Linked DNA regions of Homo sapiens: region 1 is linked to region 2. Evidence: promoter capture Hi-C in human tissues and cell types (Jung and others, 2019). All regions are on one chromosome and are shown on one strand. Each heading gives the region's core, a stretch centred on a gene start or on the middle of the fragment in contact. The rest is flanking DNA. Distances are from core to core; before and after follow the strand shown. Region 1 has its middle 41 kb from the start of CD2. Region 2 holds the start of CD2 (CD2 molecule).

What was found. The method cuts DNA at HindIII sites, captures the fragments that hold promoters and counts their contacts. A contact is called where the count stands out against the background at its distance.
Region 1: a fragment that was not itself captured here is called in contact with the fragment with the promoter of CD2 in region 2 in 3 of the 25 tissues and cell types used here (bladder, lymphoblastoid cells and thymus).

The regions. Positions count from the first base shown.
Region 1 is chr1:116,791,892-116,798,265 of GRCh38, forward strand. No RefSeq gene overlaps it. Among named protein-coding and RNA genes, the nearest start is that of CD2, 41 kb to the left of the region's middle. The HindIII fragment of the contact is 8,196 bases long and covers 1-6,374 here.
Region 2 is chr1:116,748,962-116,755,765 of GRCh38, forward strand. It overlaps CD2 (CD2 molecule), which reads left to right and starts at 5,469. Exons shown (of 5, transcript NM_001767.5): 1 at 5,469-5,592; 2 at 5,670-5,990. The coding sequence starts at 5,532. RefSeq lists promoters at 2,989-5,586, 5,144-5,586, cis regulatory regions at 3,219-3,718, 4,056-4,085 and a silencer at 3,719-4,222. The HindIII fragment of the contact is 12,515 bases long and covers 1-6,804 here.

The sequences.
Region 1 (6,374 bases), core at 2,199-4,698, 41 kb after region 2:
GGTGCCTGTGACCTAGATTGGTCACTGTGTCATCACCTGCCCTTGCAGAGCTGATAAAGGGATTCAGCTGTGACTGTTGGTTACACCATAAAAACACATTTCTCTAAGAAAGCAAGGAGGAGCAAAAGAACAGAAATTCCTGCTACTTAGGGACTAGTGCACTTGTCAGCAGTGTGTCATATCACTTACCTCTCAGGGGCAGGATTTTCTTAGAAGCTTTAGTTAGGGATGTGGAAGAAAATCTCCATCTATGCTTCACAAAGATCTGTGTCTCAGGACCAGGTCCAAGGAGAGCCCACTGGTGTGATTTCTGAGAGATTAGTAAATCCTGCTGCCCCCTAAGTGGCTCCATACCACTGGCTGATAACTGAAATTCCACTATTTATTTATTTATTATTATTATTATTATTTTTAGATGGAGTCTCGCTCTGCCACCCAGTCTGGAGTGCAGTGGCGCGATCTCGGCTCACTGTAACCTCTGCCTCCTGGGTTCAAGTGATTTTCCTGCCTCAGCCTCCTGAGTAGCTGGCATTATAGGCGCACACCACCACATCTGGCTAATTTTTGTATTTTTAGTAGAGATGGGGTTTCACCGTGTTAGCCAGGAAGGTCTCGATCTCGTGACCTCCTGAACTGCCCACCTCAGCCTCCCAAAGTGCTGGGATTACAGGCATGAGCTACTGTGCCTGGCCTGAAATTCCACTATTTTTTTTTTTTTTTTGAGACAGAGTCTTGCTCTGTCACCCAGGCTGGAGTGCAGTGGCGCGATCTTGACTCACTGCAAGCTCCGCTTCCCAGGTTCACGCCATTCTCCTGCCTCAGCCTCCCGAGTAGCTGGGACTACAGGTGCCCGCCACAACACCAGGCTAATTTTTTTTTTTTTTTTTGTATTTTTAGTAGAGATGGGGTTTCACCGTGTTAGCAAGGATGGTCTCGATATCCTGACCTCATGATCCGCCTGCCTCGGCCTCCCAAAGTGCTGAGGCGTGAGCCACCGCGCCCAGCCGAAATGCCACTATTAAAGCTTCATGTTGCGTTGGATGCCGTGGCTCATGCCTGTAATCCCAGCACTTTGGGAGACTGAGGAGGGCAGATCACTTGAGTCCAGGAGTTCAAGACCAGCCTGGGCAACATGGTGAAACCCCATCTCTACTAAAAATGCAAAAATATTAGACGGGCGTAGTGGCATGTACCTGTGGTCCCAGCTACTCAGGAGGCTGAGGTGGGAGGATTGCTTGAGCCAAGGAGGCAGAGGTTGCAGTGAGCCATGATTATACCACCACACTCCGGCCTGAGTAACAGAGCCAGACCCTGTCACGAACAAACAAACAAACAAACAAAAACATTATGTTTTTCAGCATGAAGCAGTGATGAGCAACTTGAGGACTGAGATCTACATGGAAGAACCACCAGACTGGTGAATGATTTTCAGGATGAATGTCCAGATACTAACTTGTTAGTGACTAAAAAGCCATGACAGTTTCCTCATTGACATTTCTTTTATTCAGTAAAGCAAGTATTCCAAGTCTTGAGAATCTATGTTGTTTTCCTTGCATTTTCATTTCATGGAAAATAAATGGTATGCAAAGAAGGCTGCTCACCTCTGGTTTAAGAGTTTGAATACTGTTAAAATGCAAATCATCACAGAAGAGTGCAGCTTAAAAACAACAACAACAACAACTTTATTTTTTAGAGCAGTTTTAGGTTCACAGCAAAATTGAGAGGAAGATACAGAGATTTCCTATGTACCCACTTCCTTCATAAAGTCATAGCCTCCTGAATTATCCACATCCCCCACCAGAGTGGTACATTCGTTACAATGATGAACCCACACTGACACATCATTGTCATCCAAAGTTTACATTAGGGTTCACTCTTTATGTGCATTCTGTGGGTTTGGACAAATACATAATGAGATGTATCCACTATTAGACCATACAGAGTAGTTTCACTGCCCTGAAAATCCTCTGTGCTCTGCCTGTTCATCCCTCCTTCCCCCTAACCTCAGGTAACCACTGATCTTTTCGACTTCTCCATAGTTTAGCCTTTTCCAGAATGTCATATGGTATGTAACTTTTTCATATTAGCTTCTTTTGCTTAGTAATACGGATTTAATATTTCTCCATGTCTTTTCATGGTGCGGTGGCTCATTTGTTTTTAACATTGAATAATATTCCATTGTCTGGATGTTACTATAGTTTATTTATCCATTTGTAACCAAATAGCTTAACTTCAAAATGCATTTTTTTTAAATGTCCCCTTTCTCTTTTCTCCCTAGTCTTTAAATACAACCTTGAAGCAAACTGCAGAAGCCTTTTCCTGTAAGCTTAAGGTAGACTCTATGTCCCACCCTTTCCCACCATATACTCCTTTTGCATTTATCTAACTGTATGCTAGTATCTAAATATGTTCTTACTTAGAAGTTCCAGGGGCTAATCTTTTTTTTATGGAATACACAGGGATTTAATATAGTATGATCTAAAAATTATCAAAAGCTGCCTTCCAAGGGCTAATCTTGAGACAGAAAGACCAAGCCTGGAGACCCAGCTGCAAAATTCCAGAGATTACCTCAAGGCAGCTAGTCAACAACCCGGCCATTGTTCCAGGTGGACTGAGACCCAAGATAGCAACCAAACAAGACACATGGATCTTGTACTCAGCACAACTCCTGCATGCTTCACATGTCAAGTTCCTCTTATTTTTTTTTTTTTTTTTTTTACAGAATTTGTTCTGTCGCCAGGCTGGAGTGCAGTGGCGTGATGTTGGTTCACTGCAGCCTCCACCTCCTGGGTTCAAGTGATTCTCCTGCCTCAGCCTCCCGAGTAGCTGGGGTTACAAGCAAGCGCCACCACACCCAGCTAATTTTTTTATTTTTAGTAGAGAGGGGTTTCATCATGTTGGCCAGGATGGTCTTGATTTCTTGACCTTGTGATCTGCCCTCCTCGGCCTCCCAAAGTGCTGGGACTACAGGCATGAGCCTCTATGCCTGGCCAAGTTCCCTTTTTTAAACTCTTGTTTTCTCCCCAGAAATTTAAAGTGATTACTTTGGATGGGGATCTGGTCACTTTCACTTCTGCTTTACTAGTTTTGGTTAATAAAGTCACTTTCTTTCTACCATATCTCACTCTTGTCATTGGACCTTGCAAGTGGCAAAGCAGCCAGACCCGTGCTCGGTTACACATTCACCTACTGAAGGATATCTTGGTTGCTTTTAAGAATTGGTTATTATGAATAAAGCTGAGTGCAGCCCTTTTTGTATGGAAGGAAGAGCATTTTGGCAAGGGTGCTGAAGGCATAGAAATGGTAGAAAGGGGCAGGAGATTAATGTGGGGAAGGGAGTTGGGGCAACCCACCCCGTACACAGCTCTGCCTGTGGCCAGCCCTGCTCAGAATATACTGGGCCTTAGAGCCCCATAGCAGAGGAAATGAGGCTGTGGCATGCAGGGCAGCTGGCCTGGTGCCCTCCTAAGTAGCTGTCAATCCCATGGAGCCCTCCACTAGTAGCCTCCAAGAGCTGCCTAGATGTTAGAAGAGAAATCTGTCCTTTTTAAAGCCAGAAAGTCCCCCCTTCCAGAGAAGGGACTCTTTCCTCAACCTGGAGCTCAGAGGAGAATCTGTGCTGGAAAGGCTAACGGAGTCTTGATCAGTGGGAGCACTCCTTGGGGGAGCACTCCTCAGGGGAAACACTTCTCAGGGGGACCTCTCCTCAGAGGGAATACCCTTCAGGGAAGCACTTCTCAGGGGCACTTCTCAGGGGAGCACTCCTCAGCGGGAGCACATCTCAGGGGAACTCTCCTCAGAGGGAACACTCTTAGGGGTAACTCTCCTCAAGGGAAACACTCCTCAGGGGAGCACTCCTCAGGGGGAGCATTCCTCAGGGGGGAACACTCCTTAGGAGGAGCACTCCTTGAGATTACCGCAAGGCAGCTAGTCAACAACCCGTCCATTGTTCCAGGTGGACTGAGACCCAAGATAGCCACCGAAACAAGACACATGGATGTTGTACTCAGCACAGCTCCTGCATGCTTCACACGTCAAGTTCTTCTTCTTTTTTTTTTTTCTTTTTTTTTCTTTTTTGACAGAGTCTCTCCTCAGAGGGAGCACTCCTCAGGAGTAATTCTCCTCAGGGGTAACTTCTCTTAAGGGGAAGTCTTCACAGGGACCATTCCTCAAAGGGAGCTTTCTTTCCTCTATGTGCTTTCCACCTGGCAGGGTCTCAGAGCCATATGTGCTCCCACTTCCTTACAGGGCAGGATCAGATACCACCATTTACACCCTCACTGAAAAGGCAGTCACACACACTCATACTGTAAGGGAGGAAAAATATCTTTTTCTTGACCCAACTTAGATTCATGGCTGAGGCCCCTGTAACAAAAAACAGATTAAAAAAAAAGAAAGGTCAAAAACAATGTATTTAACATAAATTTTACATGACACAGGAGCCCTCATCAGGAAATGAGGAAACAGGTAAGCCTGAATATTTTCATGCTAGGTTTGATGAAGCACGGACAATCGTGGAGAAATATGAGAGGAGGACAAAAGGGAACTATTAATGGTGACAAAACTGGGGAAAACTTAGCAAGCCTTGTTGTTCAGATTCCCCTCCATGTCCCTGTGTCTCCAGGGACAAGGATGCTCCTTTCCCCTGGGTGTAGGGAGGGAACCGTTCACCTCTCATGTGAAGGTTTTATGACCTGCTTCAGGGGAAGGTGAGAAAATCCTTCCTACGTTTTATGGAGAAGATTGGGGAAGGTTAGAGAGACTTTCCTGCACATGCTGTTTTCTCAAATTCCTTCAGCTTAGAATATTTTGGACTAGCATGTCCTGAGCCCCATCAACACTGATGCTTTCCCTTGCTAGGCCATGTGAACCTTATGAAAAAAAAATCTAGTGGCTTCTAGGAATTTCAGCAAGTATGTAAAGAAAATGCCAAGGACAGTCAGAGAACCCGTCTCTTTGCACCCCAAATCGTACTATGCTTGTGGCTGGTCCTGGAGTGCAACCTGGAGCTCTGAGAAGGGCTGGGAATTAATAATAAGCCATCTCTTCTGTGTGCTGCCCTGAGATGTGGGAGCACCTGGCTTGGACCCCTGCACAATGCAATTATTGTACCTTCAGCCCAGGGATCTGAGCCCCCTGAGCTGGCAGGAGCTCTCAGAACATCCACCGTGAGGCAGGCATGTGCTATGTGATGTCAGCACTGGTGCTGCCATGAAACAAGCTCATGGAAACAAGTTGGGCAGAAAGGTTTTGAAAAGTCAGGAACATCTTGTTGAATAACAAAAAACGAGTACGATGTAAGAACTTGTTTTTAGTGGAAAATGACTCTTCACATGACTTCTGTATGTTCACCTCTCTACCAGTCGGTTAACTGGCAGGAAGCAGGATGTCACTCAGATGGCTCAACTAGAGACTTCAATAGAGGGACCACTTAGGAAGTGTAGGCAAGGTCAAGGAAGCCAATAGGGATGTTGAGGCACCTAGAGGCTAGGAACTGCAGGAAGCTGTTGCTCTCCTAGACCAGAAGGGACAAGGGGTCCAATGAGAGCTGCAGCTGTAGAGAAGGGGTCCCCTGGAGAGAGCAGCAGCCATGGAAAAACAGCTGCAGTCAAGATAGAGCACAAGAGCAGGAAAGGGTGTGGGAAAACTCCAACTTCTCTTTCCTCCTTGTTGGCGCCTCCCATTGGCCAACCCAACTGGAAGTCAGGTGGTCAGGGAGTGCAGGTGTTTCAGCCCATAGGGGTCAACTTCCTGAGGCACAGAAAGTCAGAGAAGGCTGGTGAATGGACTCCAGTGTAGGGGGCCAGGTGGAGACTTAACTGGTATTGTTATGTTGGGTGTGTACATTCTCTAGATACAGTACGGTTATAAAATCCATTCCAGATGCGAGTCCCCTGCATTTCCATTCCATGTGTCCTCCGCCTCCCCCACTTCACTGTACTTACTAGGATCCATCCTGATCTTCATGAATCATGAAGACTACCTTGGATCTGCTACATATATGAGTCAGACTATTGGCTCTTTGAGAAACTCATTTGCTTTCTGTCCCATAGACATTGGTCAGTAAATGTATAATGGCGGAAGGGCTGCAATGGGATTAGAGAGAGTTAGTGTTCATCTTTCACTAAGATCTGCTTCCACTCCCAGCTGGCTTCCAGGGAATAAAGCCTCCTCACAGAACACACAGAGGTGGTGCAGAGAAAGCCCTAGGACCACACGAATACCACCAGACCTTGAAATGTGGGAAAAGAGGGCTGTAGGAGGCAATTCTGAATTTTTGTTGGCATGAATGAGCACATAAAATCACTTAGAGTGTTCAGGAAATTTTTCAGCCCTCTTCATTAGCTATCTTGCCTCCTTCCCCCTCAACTTTA
Region 2 (6,804 bases), core at 4,219-6,718:
CCACTTAGAATTAAACATAATTCAATTGAAGGACAATACGTGTTCAATTTAGATATATTAGAATAGCAACAGCAAGCAAGGAGGGCAGAATAGTAGCTATTATCCCACCACACAGGGACCAACACCCTGGGGACATTCTGCAAGAGATGCACCCAACACACGCTTTTTGAGAAATAAAATGGGACTATATTGTTGACTGTGAAGGGTACCAGAAGATGCTGATGTAGGACAGGTAAGCCCCATTGGGGCTTAGCCTGGAGTATTCTTGGCTTCACTCAGGAAAGAATCAAGGGCGAGCTGGTGGTGTTTGACAGCAACTTTTATTGAAGCAGCAGCAGAGGTACTGCTCCTTGCAGAGCAAGTATACACCACAGGCAGTGTGCCCAGAGTATCAGCTTAAAGGCAGTTCTGCAGTCCTATTTATACCCATTTTAATTATATGCAAATTAAAGGGCAGATTATGCAGAAATTTCTAGGAAAAGGGTGGTAACTTCTGGGTCGCCAGGTCATTGCCATGGAAAAAGGTGGTAGAAGTTGGTTATTGCCATGGCAACAGTAAACTGACATGGCACACTGGTGAGCATGTTTTATGGAAAGCTGCTTCCACCTATCTCTGTTTTAGCTAGTCCTCAATTTGGTCCAGTGTCCAAGCCCCACCTCCAGAGTCAAGTTCCACCTCCTACTTCAGTGCCACCCTAAAACATGCCTTTTTAACATATGGTTTTTTTTTGAGCAAAAGGCCATCATGAACCAGCAGAGGCAGTAAAAGCTTTAAAAACATGGCACAATATTTTTCTTTTGTAAAGAAAATTTACAATTTCTGAAGAAAATAGCCGTTTGTAAAAGGTATCTCCCTCTCCTGTATCAGGAAGAGGAGGACTCTTAACAACTCTTATCAATGGAGAAGGCATTGGCTTCAATCTGCATAACAAACCTTACTAAACACATCTTGTTGTTTGGCACACTTTTCCTGGTCATTGGGTAACTTGCCTCCCCAACCTAGAAGCCCCAAATCGCTTTTTCTTTGTTTAGTCTAATATACTCTATAAGTCCAAGTTCTAACATCCCTTTGGGTTACTCACCACTGGGTGCTCCCATGTTTATGAGGGATACACATCTTAATCAACTTCAATGTGCCTTTCCCTTCTTAACCTGTCTTTTCCCAGTCTGGTTTACAGGGCTCCAGCCAGAGAACCTAAGACAAGAAGAGGAAAAAGATTACTTTTCACCTCTCCTACAATTGGGACCTGTTTTTGTCATATTCCACAGCTTGTCTATATCATGATTTACTTAACCAATTTCCTTCTCTTAGACATTTAAATTGTTTCCAATTTTGTCTTTAAAATACTGCAGCATATAAATTTATAGCCAAGTCTAGTACATAGCCTTCATTATTTCCTTATGATAAAATCATCCTTGTGGATTTGTTAGAAATCCACAAATGTTTGATACTCTAATTCACACTGACAAATTGCCCACCAGAAACTATACCTACTTGCAATTCTCCTGGCCATATACAAGAATGCCCATTTACACCATCATCAACACTATGTTTTCATTTTTCAAATGAAGATGAAAAATGCATCTATGTTAAAACTGACATTTCTTTATTAATAAATAGAAATAAAATTTTTCTTTTGTGGATTGCTCCTTTTATGACTTTGACCCATTTTAGTTTTAAGGTGTCTATCTTTTCTATGTTTACAAGAAAAATTTAATACTAAAAATTTAATGTTGGCCAGGCACGGTGGCCCACACCTGTCATCCCAACACTTTGGGAGGCCAAGGTGGGAGGATCACTTGAGCCCAGGAGTTCAAGATGAGCCTGGGCAACATAGTGAGACCCCCCGTCTCTACAAAAAATAAAAAAATTAGCCAGGCATGGTGCCACATGTCTGTAGTCCCAGCTACTCAGGAGGCTGAAGCAGGAGGATCACTTGAGCTCAGGAGGTCAAGGCTGCAGTATGCTGTGGTGCTGTGGTCATACCACTGCACTCCATCTTGAGCAACAGAGCAAGACCCTGTCTCTAAAATTAAAAAAAAATTGTTATGCCTTTGTCATGTATCTTGCAAGTAATTTGCTCCTTTTAGTACGTTGTCTTTAATTTTTTTATGGCTTTTTACATAGAAAGTTTTCACATTTTACAGAGTCAAATCTACTGACCTCTTTCTTTTTCATTGTTTCTGCCCTTGAAGCCATGCTCATCACTCAGAATTGAATTAGTTTTAGAGGAGCAAAATTAATGTTTCAAATAGAGGAACAGAAAGCTGCTCTTCACATGCTCCATGAGGAAAGTGTGAGGAAGAGAGGACAAGCGCCCTCCAAAGCTGAGATGGGTCAGAGGATGGCTGGCGCCACCTTCTCTCCACCAGGCCTTGACACACTGGAGTTGGATGGCAGCTGGTGGGTCAGCCACTCACAAACAGGAAGCTCCATGCTGCTCCTCTGGGTTGGCGATACTTTTGAAAAAATACGTGTGCCCTAAGCATCCTTTCTTAAAAAGACATTTTTTATTAACAAAAAAGGTGCTTATTTCCAAAATTTTAAACTTCACAGAAATAAATAAAATGTGAAAGAAACATAAAATCCTGGGACCCCAATTCATTATGCCAAAAGGAAAAATTAAGCTGAAAGTTGAGTCACACAAGAAACTGCCTTTCCTTGAGTTCCTAAGCAGAGAGTTACAGATAAAAAGCTGCTGTCTCCACGGGTAGCTACTCTATGTTCACCTTATCTTAAGAAAGTGCCAATTTACTGAGCATGAGAAGAATACAAATTGACCATTCCCCTACCTACTTTTTTTCTCTTGCAACATATGGATTCAGTAATGTGACTGTACCCTCCCTCCTTCCCCTCTGGCCAGCTTTTCCCCTTAACTGAAGGTTTTGAAATAATCTTGAGAAAAAGGCACAAACCACAGATTTTTCCTGTGGTTCTGTGTTCCTTTTTGTCCCTAATGTTGATGAAATAAACTTCTAAATTGATTGAGATCTGTCTCAAATTCTTTTTGGTTTACAAAGGTAAGAAGTGAAAATTTCATTTCAGTTCTCTCACAATCTAATACCTGAAAGACAAGCACTGTAAAAAAATTCAGCATCAACCCTTTCAGGCTTTTTTCCAACACATACCTTAATAACAACATAGTATGCTATGGTATACTGGTATACCCATAGCATAGTATAAACATAGTATCATATATAAAAAGGACTAATCCTATAGATATTGTTTTGCAATGTGCTCTTTTCATGTGATTTACCAAAAGCATCTTTCCATGTCTTACTTTTAGGCCTATGTTATACTATTTTGATGGTTATACAATATTTCATAATATGGATATACCATAATTTTAGTTGTTTGCAATTTTTTATTACAAAAATGCTACAACAAACGTCCTTGAACAGAATTTTAAAACATCTGTGCAATCATTTCTGTGGGATAGATTTCTCAAATTAAAATCACTAGGTGAGAAAAAGACATAAATTTTAAAGTTTGGTGGAAATGATAAATTCCTTTCCCCAGAAGGTATTGATTTACATTCCCTCTGATGTTGTATGAGGGTTCATTTCTCCACACACTCATGTTAATAATGTAAATTATCATCTTTTCTAATTTTACCAATCTGATGGTGAAAAATGGTATTTTATAGCTAAGATATATACATATATTTTTGGTCACATTAGACTCCTCTTGTAGGTTTGATATTTCTTCTGCGAAATATTTCTTCTGCAAGCTGATCATTTATATCATTTGCCCATTTTAAAAACTACTTTGTATTGATTGGTAAGAATTATTGGTAAGAATATTTTGAATATTAATAATTTTATATATATTGCAAATATTTTGTCACGCCTTTTCATTTTGTTCCTTATTTCTTCATCTGCATGTAAATCTTACTTCTTTATATCATCAGTTGTGTTCATCTTTTCTTTCTTACTTTGGATTATATGTTATATGTAGCCAGGCCTTCCATACTCAAACTATAGGAATATCTTTCTATATTGTCCTTTTAGCATTATTGTTATTATTTTATTTATTTAGTTATTTATTTTGAGACAGAGTCTCACTCTGCTCCCCAGGCTGGAGTGCAGTGGCACAATCCTGGCTCACTGCAACCTCCGCTTCCCAGATTCAAGCAATTTGCCTGCCTCAGCCTCCTGAGTAGCTGGGATTACAGGCGCACATCACCACACCTGGCTAATTTTTGTATTTTTAGTAGAGATGGGTTTCACCATGTTGGCCAGGCTGGTCTTGAACTCCTGACCTCAGGTGAGGAGGTCCGCCTCGACCTCCCAGAGTGCTGGGATTATAGCTGTGATCCACCACCCCCGGCCTCCTTTTAGCATTATTATAGTATTTTTGCATTTAAAACTTTAATCCAACTGTAGTTCATTATTGTGGATGACGCTCATACAACCATGAGGTAAATATTTGGCTTTCTTTTACCCAGTAACAGCAAACAACTGCTTTGACTTAATTTCATTTCCTTGGCAACTTTCTGACAGATAATATCCATATTTGTACTTAAAGTTGAAAAAGAAAACGAGCACCACTTTTGCAATTTTTACTCACTGTGACCTAAAGAATTATAACCCTGAAAATGTGCTTTGGAAGTCTGTCATGGTTATTTCTCTTTTTAGGCATCTTTTCAGGGCACACCCGTCTCTGCATCACTGTCTGTTTCCTTGTGTCACAAATTTCTGTTCTTTTTTTCTCTCCCTGTTCCCTCTCATTTATTTTTTCTCCTAATCTCTCCTTTTTCTTAACCACCTATAATGTTAATCACTTTAAATGCTTTTGACTCCTTTGTTTTGGTAGTTTAATTATATTTCATAGTCTCTATGCTTCTTTGTTTTGGAATAAGTTTTTATTTATCTAACTGTGAATTTCACTAGAGTTGTAAAATGTATGCCGAACATAGGATTTGGGGATTGCAAGCATTTACAGCTGATATTCAATTTCTTTCTTTTCACCACAAAAACGATTTTAGAACATGAAAAATATCTTTGGAGAAACAAAAAAATCAATTTCCTCATCATTTTATGGGTCTACATTTTTCAATATAATCATATGGGATAAATGTTTGCATTCTGCTATTGGCTTGTGAACATTTACCTATATTTCTATGTGGTCTTGTTAGGGACAGTATACCTAAGTGGATAAAAGGCTGTGTGGTTGAATTTGGCTTCTTGTTTACAAAAGAGTGATCCTTAGTGATCTACTTAGCCTCTCTGTTCCTTTTCTCTTTCACTGAGATGAGAAAACCTATCCTTCCCAATTTTTTTGTGTGAGAATTAAAATGCAGCAAGAAAACACACACTCATAAACACATCTGCTTTGGCAAAGGAGCACATCAGAAGGGCTGGCTTGTGCGCGCTCTTGCTCTCTGTGTATGTGTATTATGTTTTATGTTACTGTAAAAGATGTAAAGAGAGGCACGTGGTTAAGCTCTCGGGGTGTGGACTCCACCAGTCTCACTTCAGTTCCTTTTGCATGAAGAGCTCAGAATCAAAAGAGGAAACCAACCCCTAAGATGAGCTTTCCATGTAAATTTGTAGCCAGCTTCCTTCTGATTTTCAATGTTTCTTCCAAAGGTAAGCATAAGAGTCAAAGAAGTCCCAACCCAGCTTTCCCTGAAAGTGACTCTCAGTAACTCTTTTGCTTTTTATAGGTGCAGTCTCCAAAGAGATTACGAATGCCTTGGAAACCTGGGGTGCCTTGGGTCAGGACATCAACTTGGACATTCCTAGTTTTCAAATGAGTGATGATATTGACGATATAAAATGGGAAAAAACTTCAGACAAGAAAAAGATTGCACAATTCAGAAAAGAGAAAGAGACTTTCAAGGAAAAAGATACATATAAGCTATTTAAAAATGGAACTCTGAAAATTAAGCATCTGAAGACCGATGATCAGGATATCTACAAGGTATCAATATATGATACAAAAGGAAAAAATGTGTTGGAAAAAATATTTGATTTGAAGATTCAAGGTAAGTGTTCATTCCCTTAATTGCTTTATTTCAGTGTGGGTGCTATTTGGCAAGTTGGAAAATAGCATTTCTAATATTCCCCAGCGCTGACCTCTGCCTCCAGGGGGGCTATACAGGAAACCAGATGCATGTCTCCTGCCCCAGTGGAGACTGTGGTCCAATGCGGGAATGGGATCCACACATCTGATAGACCCTCAAGTCTACCTGCCTACAACTCTGTCTTCAGGTGGTTACAGGAATGTGGGGTTGGGTGAAGAACCTGGATTAAGGTGGCATTAATCGGGAGGGGGACACAGGTAGGCCGAGGGAAAAGGCAACTGTTCCAGGTTGCTGATGAATCGGCGAGCTAAGAGTGGGGCGAGAAGAAGAGGCTGACTGGAGAGCAGCGGGCCTTTCATCGACAGAGCCCATTTCAAGCCAGGCTGCCCTGAAGGAGGAGTTATATGGCAGAAAAGGGCTGGAAACAACATATTTAAGGATGAACAGCCCTTATTTTGGATCTGCTTGTCAGAGTGATACAAGGTGGCAGGTGATTTTTGCTGATATGTGTAGAAGATGCACAAGGTGTGGCTTTGTATATCTCTGCCTGTACTGGGAGGACAGGAGTGGATATTGAGGATGGGGTTAGGGAGACTAGTTAGAAAGCTGCTGCTGTAATCCAAGTGGAGTGAGGACCAATTAAATCAGATTTTTTTTGCATGCGGCCTGGGTATCATTAGGTTCTAAAGCTCCCTGGGGGATTCTAATGAGCTGCCAAAGTCAATCGCCACTGGCCTAGACCAAAGGGTGCCTCTAAAATAGGAAGAATGAGGAT